2 separate regions of the Homo sapiens genome follow, and region 1 is linked to region 2. Evidence: promoter capture Hi-C in 16 types of primary human blood cells and fetal thymus (Javierre and others, 2016). All regions are on one chromosome and are shown on one strand. The core of a region is centred on a gene start or on the middle of the fragment in contact, and the rest is flanking DNA. Distances in the headings are between cores, read along the strand shown.

Region 1 (4,688 bases), core at 422-2,921, 73 kb before region 2:
AAATAAGATTAAACAAGACGTGAATTAACAAAGTAAGTCTCAGTCATAATGAGGGTGGGAGGGAAAGGTTTTATAACCTCAAGATCCCAAAGAAAAAGGAAGAAAATAGAGGGAAAATCTTAAGAACCACAAACATGAGACTGAAGCAACTGAATTGACTGTAAGAAAAGAAAGTAAAACCAAAAAACAAGACCTGAGGACTAAAAATTAGGAAACAGTTTATCAAAAGATAGGTCATAGTCATAGAGTAGCAGGGTGGGGGAAAAGGTTATTAAAAGCTTTCTCACACAACACAGGTTTGCTTCCCCAAGAGAAATGAGACAATGTAGCTAACAAGTAATAAAGGAAACAACATGAAAACATGTCTCAAGCCACAGGGAAGTTAAGCAGAGAACCCTTAAATGGAAATGATGATCCATCCTAAAAAGATGAAAAAGAGGATGTGGAGTACAAAGGACATAGAACAGGAAATTAAAACTTTGATGTTCCAAACCAGTTCACCCAGTTATTTGGCCTTAGGTAAGACATTCTCTGTGCCTTTGTTTCCTTGTCTATAAGTTGAAGAGGTTGGGAGATCATAGTATCCAAAGTCTCTTCCAAAAAAGATGTGGCTCTGTGCATCTAAGCTCCAACTGACAAGACACAGAGCTATATAAGAAGGTAAAGAAAAGGCCAGCAATATGCACAATTTTTTTTTTTAGACGGAGTTTCGCTCTTGTTGCCCAGGCTGGAGTACAATGGTGCGATCTCGGCTCACTGTAACCTCTGCCTCCTGGGTTCAAGCAGTTCTCCTGCCTTAGTCTCCAGAGTCGTTGGCCAGGCTGGTCTCCAACTCCTGACCTCAGGTGATCCACCTGCCTCGGCCTCCCAAAGTGCTGGGATTACAGGCGCGAGCCATCGCACCCAGCCAATAGGCACAATTTAAGAAATAATTAAGCTGGGTGTGGTGGCTCATACCTGTAAACCCAGCACTTTGGGAGGCCGAGGTGAAAGGATCACTTCAGCCCAGGAGTTCAAGACCAGCCTGGGCAACGTAGCAAGACCTCATCTGTACTTGAAAAAAAAAAAAAAAGGCCAGGCGTGGTGGCTCACACCTGTAATCCCAGCACTTTGGGAGGCCAAGGCGGGTGGATCACGAGGTCAAGAGATCAAGACCATCCTGGCCAACCCAGTGAAACCCTGTCTCTACTAAAAATACAAAAATTAGCTGGGCGTGGTGGCATGCGCTTGTAGTCCCAGCTACTCAGGAGGCTGAGGCAGGAGAATTGCTTGAACCTGGGAGGTGGAGGTTACAGTGAGCCAAAATCACACCACTGCACTCCAGCCTGGCAATAGAGTGAGACTCTGTCTCAAAAAAAAGGAAAAAAAAAAGAAAAAAAGCTGGGTGTAATGGAGCTTGCCTGTAGTCCCAACTTCTCAGGAGGCTGAAGTGGGAGGATCACTTGAGCCAGGGAGGTCGAGGCTGCAGTGAGCCATGATTGGGCCACTTCACTCCAGCCTGGGTGACAGAGTGAGACCTTGTCAAAAGAAAAAAAAAAAAGGAATAATTGAAGATAAAATTTCTGAAGCAATTAAAAAAAGAGCCCCAACTTAATGTAGAGTTTAAGAAATTTCAAGTTGCCTCCACAGAACCACCCTCAAAAAAGACTCCCTCCCCACACCCCAGTCAAGCATATGTAAAAGAATCATCTATCATCAATGAAACAATAAATGTGTAATTATAATTGAAGACAATAAATCTACATTATCAAAATAATTTAAAAATTTCGTAAAGATACAATAGGTTTGAATAATACAATGAATAAAATGGAACCAATACAAAATCTATAACTGTACTTCCTTTTAAGTGATTTCAAAATATTCTAATGAATCTTTTGTAAGAACTACACAATAGACATAAAGTGTAAATTCTATAAATGATTTTATAGAATTCCAAATGATAATTAATACAGCATTGTAAAGTACCTAACCATAAGGATAAAACATTATTTTAAAACAGATTTTCTTCAAGGAGGAAATACAGAATATAATGGAGCTTTATTGAGATGTGGTTAATATACAATAAACAGCACATGTTTAAAGTATACAATTGGTGAGTTTTGACATATGTGTACATCTGTGAAACAATCATCACAGTCCAGCCAATGAATACACCCATCACACCAAAAGGATCATGTGCCACTTGGTAATCTCTCCCTCCTGCACTTCCCTGCCTTATGCCCATCCACATGATATACTTCCTGTTGTTATAGATTATTTTGCATTTTCTAGACTTTTACATAAATGGAGTTATACAATATGTACTCTTTTTTGCCTGCCCTCTTGTACTTCATGTAATTAGTTTGAGATTCATCCATGTTATAGCATGTATCAATATTTCATTTATTTTATTGTTCCTTAGAATGAGTAGTATTCCATTGTACAAATTTACCACAATTTGTTTATCCATTAACCTATTGATGCACTTTTGGGTTATTTCTAGTCTGAGGCTCTTACAAATAAAGTTGGTATGAACAATTGTGCAAAAGAAATTTTATGGGCATATGCTTTCATTTCTTCTAGGTAAATACCTAGGAATAGAATGACTGTGTTAGAAATAAATTTTTGATGCCACAAAAGAAATAGCACTCGAACATAAATTTAATTTTCTCAGCAAGGCAATTTTACTTCTATAGAAGGGCGCACCTCGTGGATGGAGCAATGGCGAGAGCACATCTGAACAAGGAAGGGGAAGGGGTTCTTATTCCTGACACAGGTAGCCCCTACTGCTGTGTTGTTCCCCTATTGGCTAGGGTGGGACGACACAGTCTAAGCCAATTCCAATTGGCTATTTTAAAGAGAGCAGGGGTATGAGTCAGAGTGGTGGGGTGCGTTGTTTAGCGGGGAAGACGGTTACAGAACAGGTGACTCAGGATGACTCAGGTCAGAGCAGCTGACCAGGGATGACTCAGGACAGAGCAGGTGACCAGAGGTGACTCAGGATGGAGCAGGTGATAGAGGCTAGGAGGAGTTTGTTTACTGAAACTAGGGGCAAGGAGAGAAGAGAACGAGGAAGTTAAGCTTTAAAATAAAGAACAGGGAGCTGAACTTACTGATACCAGAACTCATTGTACTTAACAATTTACAGGCTAAAACCTTTGAAGAGGAATTTATTATATCCTACAACTGGGTTATATGGTAAGTGTATGTTTAAATTTTAAGAAACTGCCAAACTGTTTTTCAAAGTGGTTAACCATTTTTCATTCCCACCAGCTATATATAAGAGTTACAGTTGCTCCACATCCTTGACAACACTTGGCATGGACAGTCTTCAAAATTTAAGATGTTCCAATTGGGGTGTGGAAGAATCTCATCATGATTTTTAATTTGTATTTATCTAATGGCTAATGATTTTTTGAACATCTCTTCATTTTCTTATTTGCCGTCTGTGTATCTTCTTTGATGAAGTCTTATTTTGCCCATTTTTGTGTTGGGTTGTTAATGTTTTTTTTTTCTTTTTTTTTTTTTTGAGACAGAGTCTTGCTCTGTCGCTCAGGCTGGAGAGCAGTAGCACAATCTCGGCTCACTGCAAGCTCCGCCTCCCAGGTTCATGCCATTCTCCTGCCTCAGCCTCCTGAGTAGCTGGGACTACAGGCACCCACCACCATGCCCGGCTAATTTTTTTGTATTTTTTTAGTAAAGACAGGGTTTCACCGTGTTGGCCGGGATGGTCTCGATCTCCTGACCTCATGATCTGCCCATCTTGGCCTCCCAAAGTGCTGGCATTACAGACCTGAGCCACTGTGCCCGGCAGGTTGTTAATTTTTTAAACTTTTATTAGTTAGTTTTGAAAATATATATATTCTTTGCACATTAAAGGACACAGTTCTTTATCAGATATGTGATTTACAAATATTTTTCCAACACTTGTCTCTTGTCTTTTCATTCTCTTAACAGTGTTTTTCAAAGAGCAGAAGTTCTTCATTTGGATAAAGTAAAAAAAAATTATAGATGGATTGTGATTTTGGTATTGTTTCTAAGAAACCATTGACCAAACCAGGGTCACAAAGACTTTCTCCTGTGTTTTCTTCTAGAACATTTATACTTTTAGATTTTACATTTAGGTTTGTGATCCAGTTTGAATTAATTTTTTTGTGTACTGTGTGGTATGGATCAAAGTTCATTTTCTTTTTTTCTTTTTTTTTGGGGGGGGATATGGCTATCCAATTGTTCCAGTAAAATTTGTTGAAAAAAATAGAATTGCCTTTAAAGTTTATGAAAACATCAGTTGTTTACATATATGTGGGTTTATTTCTGGGATCCACCATCTTTCCATTTATCTATTTGTCTGTCTTAATGCCAATTCCATACTGTCTCGATTACTGTAGTTTTATAGTGCCTTGGAATCATGTAATGAAAGTTCTTTAATTTTGTTCTTCTTTTGTAAAAGTTGTTTTGGCTATTCTAGGTACTTTGTATTTCCATTTGAATTTAATAATCAATTTGTCAATTTTTACAAAAAGCCTATTGAGATTTTAATTGGGATTGCATTGAATATATAAATCAATTTGGGGACAGTTGACATCTTAATGTTGAGTCTTCCAATCCATGAACAAAGTGTGTTTCTCCATTTAGGTCTTCTTTAATTTCTTTTGGCAATATTTTGTAGTTTTCAGTCATCATTAAGTATTTAATTTTTTATGCAATCA
Region 2 (4,566 bases), core at 132-2,631:
CCAACTCCTCCCCCACTAGCCCGGCACTGAAATGCCCTTGTTCACTTTATTTTAAATGGGCACCATTCGGAGGCTACATTCTCACAGTCCATTCTTTGCTTCCCGTTCCTCCCTTGCTCCATGACCTGGGATCATGATCCCTTTCTTCCTAAAACTTTCACCCCTAGTTTCAGATAGTTGACAGTTTTGCACAAATAGTAACATTTCCCCGTAATTACTGTTTTTTTTTTCCTTCCTTATCAAAAGGGGCTGGTCAAAGCCAACCTTGTTCAGTTTATGAACCCAACTCCTTCCTCCCTCAAGACTGACACAGAGATTGACGTAAAGAGTACGCTCGGCCCGGTTAAATTTATAAGCACAGAACCAGGTATCGCATGCTTGTCCATGTGACTCTTTTTTTTCTTTTCTTTCTTTCTTTTTTTTTTTTTTTTTTTTTTTTTTTTTTTGAGACGGAGTCTTGCTATGTCACCCAGGCTGGATGGAGTGCAGTGGCGCGATCTCAGCTCCCTACAAGCTCCGCCTCCCGGGTTCACGCCATTCTCCTGCCTTAGCCTCCCGAGTAGCTGGGACTACAGGGGCCCACCACCACGCCGGCCTAATTTTTTGTATTTTTAATAGAGGCAGGGTTTCACCGTGTTAACCAGGATGGTCTCGAACTCCTGACCTCGTGATCTGCCCGCCTCGGCCTCCCAAAGTGCTGGGATTACAGGCGTGAGCCACTGTGCCAGGCCCATGTACAAAATAAAGCACCCGGAACTTTGCACCTGGACTTATCTACACTCGACAATCTTTGTCCTAGGAACTCAGGGAGTCCACACCAGGCTTTTAACACCCTTGAGACTGAAGGAGGGAAAAGGCTGTAACTGGCAGCGACAACTGGGCCTAGTATAACGCGAACTCCAGTTTTGGCCAAACCTCCTCCAACACACATGTGCAAAGCCACATTCTCATGAAGAGGGGGCAAAACATTTGCTTTCTGGGTTTAACCTTCTACCATCTCAAACCAACTGTGCCAAAAATTTCCCTGTTCACCAGGATTCATCAAAAAACGTACATTTCTATTTTCACCGATTTTAAGAGAATAATTAACTGCTCTATTTTTACAAAAAATACACAAAGTGATACAATCTAAAGACTAATCCTCAGACAAAATCAATTGCTAAACATTGGAGGGGCAAAAGGGGAGACCACGCCGCAAAAGCACGGAGAGGCAACTTTCGGCACCGCGGGAAGGCCCCGACCACGCTGCGGCTCCGCCTCTCCTCCCGCCCCTCGTTCGGTAGTCCGGTAGCCCCGCGGCTCCCCGAATTCCCCGCCCTCGGCCCCTGCGGGCGCACCCTGCAGGCCCCGCCCCGGCCCCGCCTCATCGCGACGTCAGTTGTTATGTCTCGGCTCCGGCCGCGGCCGCCGCTGATACACGGTTGTGGAGGGTACGGCCGCGGTCTCCGGAGGTGGCGGGGGTGTTGGGGACGGGTGCTGCGACCGGCACTGCCCATCCGAGCGGGACGGGCGCTGAGTGGCCGGGAGGCAGCCGGGTAGCCGCCTGGAGGAGCAGTCTCGGGGCCTATTATTGGTTTTTTCCCTCCGAGACCGATTCCATCTGCAGAGACCGCGACGCCCCATCCTGGGCCGGGCCGCAGTGCCCGCCCGCCTGAGAGGCGCCGCCCGCCAGCCGGCCCGAGCGAACCTGGAGCCGCCGCCGTGCCCGCCGCTCTTCTCGCGGAGCCTGGGCGGTCGGCGGGGCCTGGGGCCTGGGCTTCGGGCGCGGCGTTGCGGCGGCCGCTCCTCCCCGCGCAGAACACGCTGGGCCCCGGGCCTGGCCCGGCCGAGCGCCGCGCCCTCCTGACCCGCGGCCGCGGGAGTCCGGCCCCCACGGCCCCTCGGGCCCCGGCCTGCCGCCCGGATCCCCGCCTCCTGGGCGGATCTGAGTTATTTTTTGGTCTCCCCCTCCCCCTTGAGATCGCGGCACCGGAGGGCCGACCCCGCCACCTGGGTCAGTGCCCGCCCCGGGGGAAGCGTCCCTCGTTTTGTTCTTCCCCGCGAGCTCTCCCCGCGCCCCTCTCCTTTCTGTGCTTAATGGATGGGGGTTTTGAGTTTTTCCCCTTTATTTTTGTCGGCTCTTGACTGGGAGGCCCGGCGCGAGGCTCTGCGTCTCTGCGTCCCTCGTCGCCGCCTCGCGCCCGCGCGGATCCCGTCACCTGCTTCCCCGCCGGGGATGGCCGGCCAGTGACGGCGCCGGGTGGCCCGCGCGTGGACACGGGGCCCTCGCCCAAGCTGCCACCGAGCCGCGGCCCCCGCCCTCGACCCTTCTCTCTCCCGTATTCCGAGCTCTCTGGAAAGAGAGGAAACTCCAGGGAAGATGTGGCTGAAGCTTTTTTTCTTGCTCCTCTATTTCCTGGTCCTGTTCGTCCTGGCCAGGTTTTTTGAGGCCATTGTGTGGTATGAAACTGGCATCTTTGCCACCCAGCTGGTGGATCCGGTGGCGCTGAGCTTCAAGAAGCTGAAGACCATTTTGGAGTGCCGGGGGTTGGGCTACTCAGGGTTGCCCGAGAAGAAGGATGTCCGGGAGCTGGTGGAAAAGTCAGGCGAGTATCGGGCTTCCCCTAGGGTCCCCTCCACCTGGGAGAGGGGACGACCTGTACCTCCTGGTACCTGGCTGTTCCCCCAGAGTGAGGCCTTTCCTGGAAGCGTTAAAGCTGCCCAGGTTTCTTCGTCCAAGCTTCCTACAATCAAGTATGCGGATCCCAGCTTTGAGGAGGAGTCTGAAATTATTTGGAGGAGTGTTGGTGTATCCTTTTAAGGTTATCGTAAAATGACAGTTTAAAGTGTGGCTTCTTAGCGTTGTTTACTAAGTTGAGTGATTTTCTCAAAATTCTGGAATATCAACTAGTTACAAACTGGAAAGCATTATTTGTCAGTTGAAGTTCATAAAAACGTAAGAAAAACTCCAAAACGTTGTCTGTCAATAGCAATATTTGTCACGATAGTAATAATAAGATACCCAGAGTGGGGACACATCTTTGGAATACTTACTATCAGAGGCACTTGGGCCTAGGATTTAAATGTTAAATCATGAGTTTGAATATAGACAGTATACACCGTACAGTATTAGCTTTTCAGACTTTAAGTTTGGTGAAAATAAGGCGAGCATTTTGTATAAATGCCTGCCATGTTCGAGTTTATATTATATTTCTGTTAGGATTTTTAAAAATTTGCATCTTGGATGTGTAAAAGAAAAATTTTTTTTGTCTTCTGTGTCACAGGTACCCTTGCATTGTTTAATGGGTTGAGAAATATACGTGAAATAGTGCTGAGAGAATATTCAATGTCTTAAAGAATGTGTTTTTAGTAATTGTTGGTTTTGGTAGGATTGGGTGAGAAATATGGTTAATTTTTTTCACTGCTGCACAAAGTATATCTTTGGATATACTTCCTGAAAGTGGAATGTAATTTGAGAAAGGCTTTCTGCGTTGCTGTGGGAAGCAGCTGAAACTGATGGTTATCTTTTTTGTTGTTTCAAGTATTTTTGTCAGCTGTATCTTTTACAAGACAAATCTTTTCCTTCTTTAGTACCTTATAGACATGTAGCGTGATAGACAAGAGTATGAGCTCGCTAGCAGTTTAACACTTGGATATTTGTAGGTTGCGGGTTATAAAACTCATATCTCACTATTAGGGTAGAGGAGAGGAACACACTCTGCAGAAGTGATAAATGTTTCTTTAGAGAAAATATAAAATCGTATATTATTCTTGCCCCTTGTTTGCTGACTGGTTTATGGCGATTCTTATTTCTACCATAGGGGGAAGAAGTGGAGTAACTAGGGTAAAAGATCTCTAATAAATAAACTCTCTTGGTTTAGAGATGAGAAGTGTCTCAACTGCCAAAGCCATCATTTTTTTATGGAAAATAATTTGGTCACACATTTTTTTTTCTTTTGACTGTTATTTATTATTGCCTTCTTTTGGGCCTAAAAATACTTGGCACATTGAATGTACTAGAAGTCCACATTTAACTTTAAGACGCACAGCCCAGTATGACTCAAATCACACGTTTTATGGCAGAAAAGTCATGGTATAGCAGTTTAAAATTTAAGTGTTTATTGTGAATGGTTTTGCTGCTATCATGGTGCAGTACTTGGTTTCTCACTGTTTAATATTTAAGGCGAAAGTTAAAATAATTTGATTTTAGTGTTTTCCTTTCCTTTTTGTTTAATGATACAAGCTCTAAATTTATAATATAAATTTGTATATGAATATGGAGTTTGTTCTGTCTAACAGGTAAAGTTCTAACCTCCAAGTCATACAAACCCTGTTGCTCTTTTAAGCAGGGCTGATGGCAAATTCTGTGAACCCAATTCTACATCTTTTAAGTAAGAAGCATATAAGCCATACTGTTTAAAAATGTATATGAAGCCTGTATGTGTCATTCATAAAACTAAATAATTAAGAAAGTTGTGCCTTTTTGGAGTGGTACAAATTTGGTAAGTTCCTAATAATTATGTGATAACCCCACTAAAATATAAGCCCTGTTCTATAAGAGATGGATTTTTGTCTATTTTGTTCACT

Evidence for each region. The method cuts DNA at HindIII sites, captures the fragments that hold promoters and counts their contacts. A CHiCAGO score of 5 or more calls a contact.
Region 1: a fragment that was not itself captured here is called in contact with the fragment with the promoter of RNF103 in region 2 in 6 of 17 cell types (M2 macrophages, M0 macrophages, M1 macrophages and 3 more); the score reaches 7.6 in M2 macrophages.

Annotation. Positions count from the first base shown.
Region 1 is chr2:86,693,483-86,698,170 of GRCh38, reverse strand. All of the region lies in intron 1 of RNF103-CHMP3 (RNF103-CHMP3 readthrough), which reads left to right. Among named protein-coding and RNA genes, the nearest start is that of RMND5A, 24 kb to the left of the region's middle. RefSeq lists an enhancer at 2,289-3,488. The HindIII fragment of the contact is 2,782 bases long and covers 281-3,062 here.
Region 2 is chr2:86,620,680-86,625,245 of GRCh38, reverse strand. It overlaps RNF103 (ring finger protein 103), which reads left to right and starts at 1,381. Exons shown (of 4, transcript NM_005667.4): 1 at 1,381-2,585. The coding sequence starts at 2,360. The region is part of intron 2 of RNF103-CHMP3 (RNF103-CHMP3 readthrough); the gene reads left to right. RefSeq lists silencers at 1,191-1,360, 1,441-1,980, 2,251-2,330, 2,511-2,560 and an enhancer at 1,186-1,480. The HindIII fragment of the contact is 8,880 bases long and covers 1-2,373 here.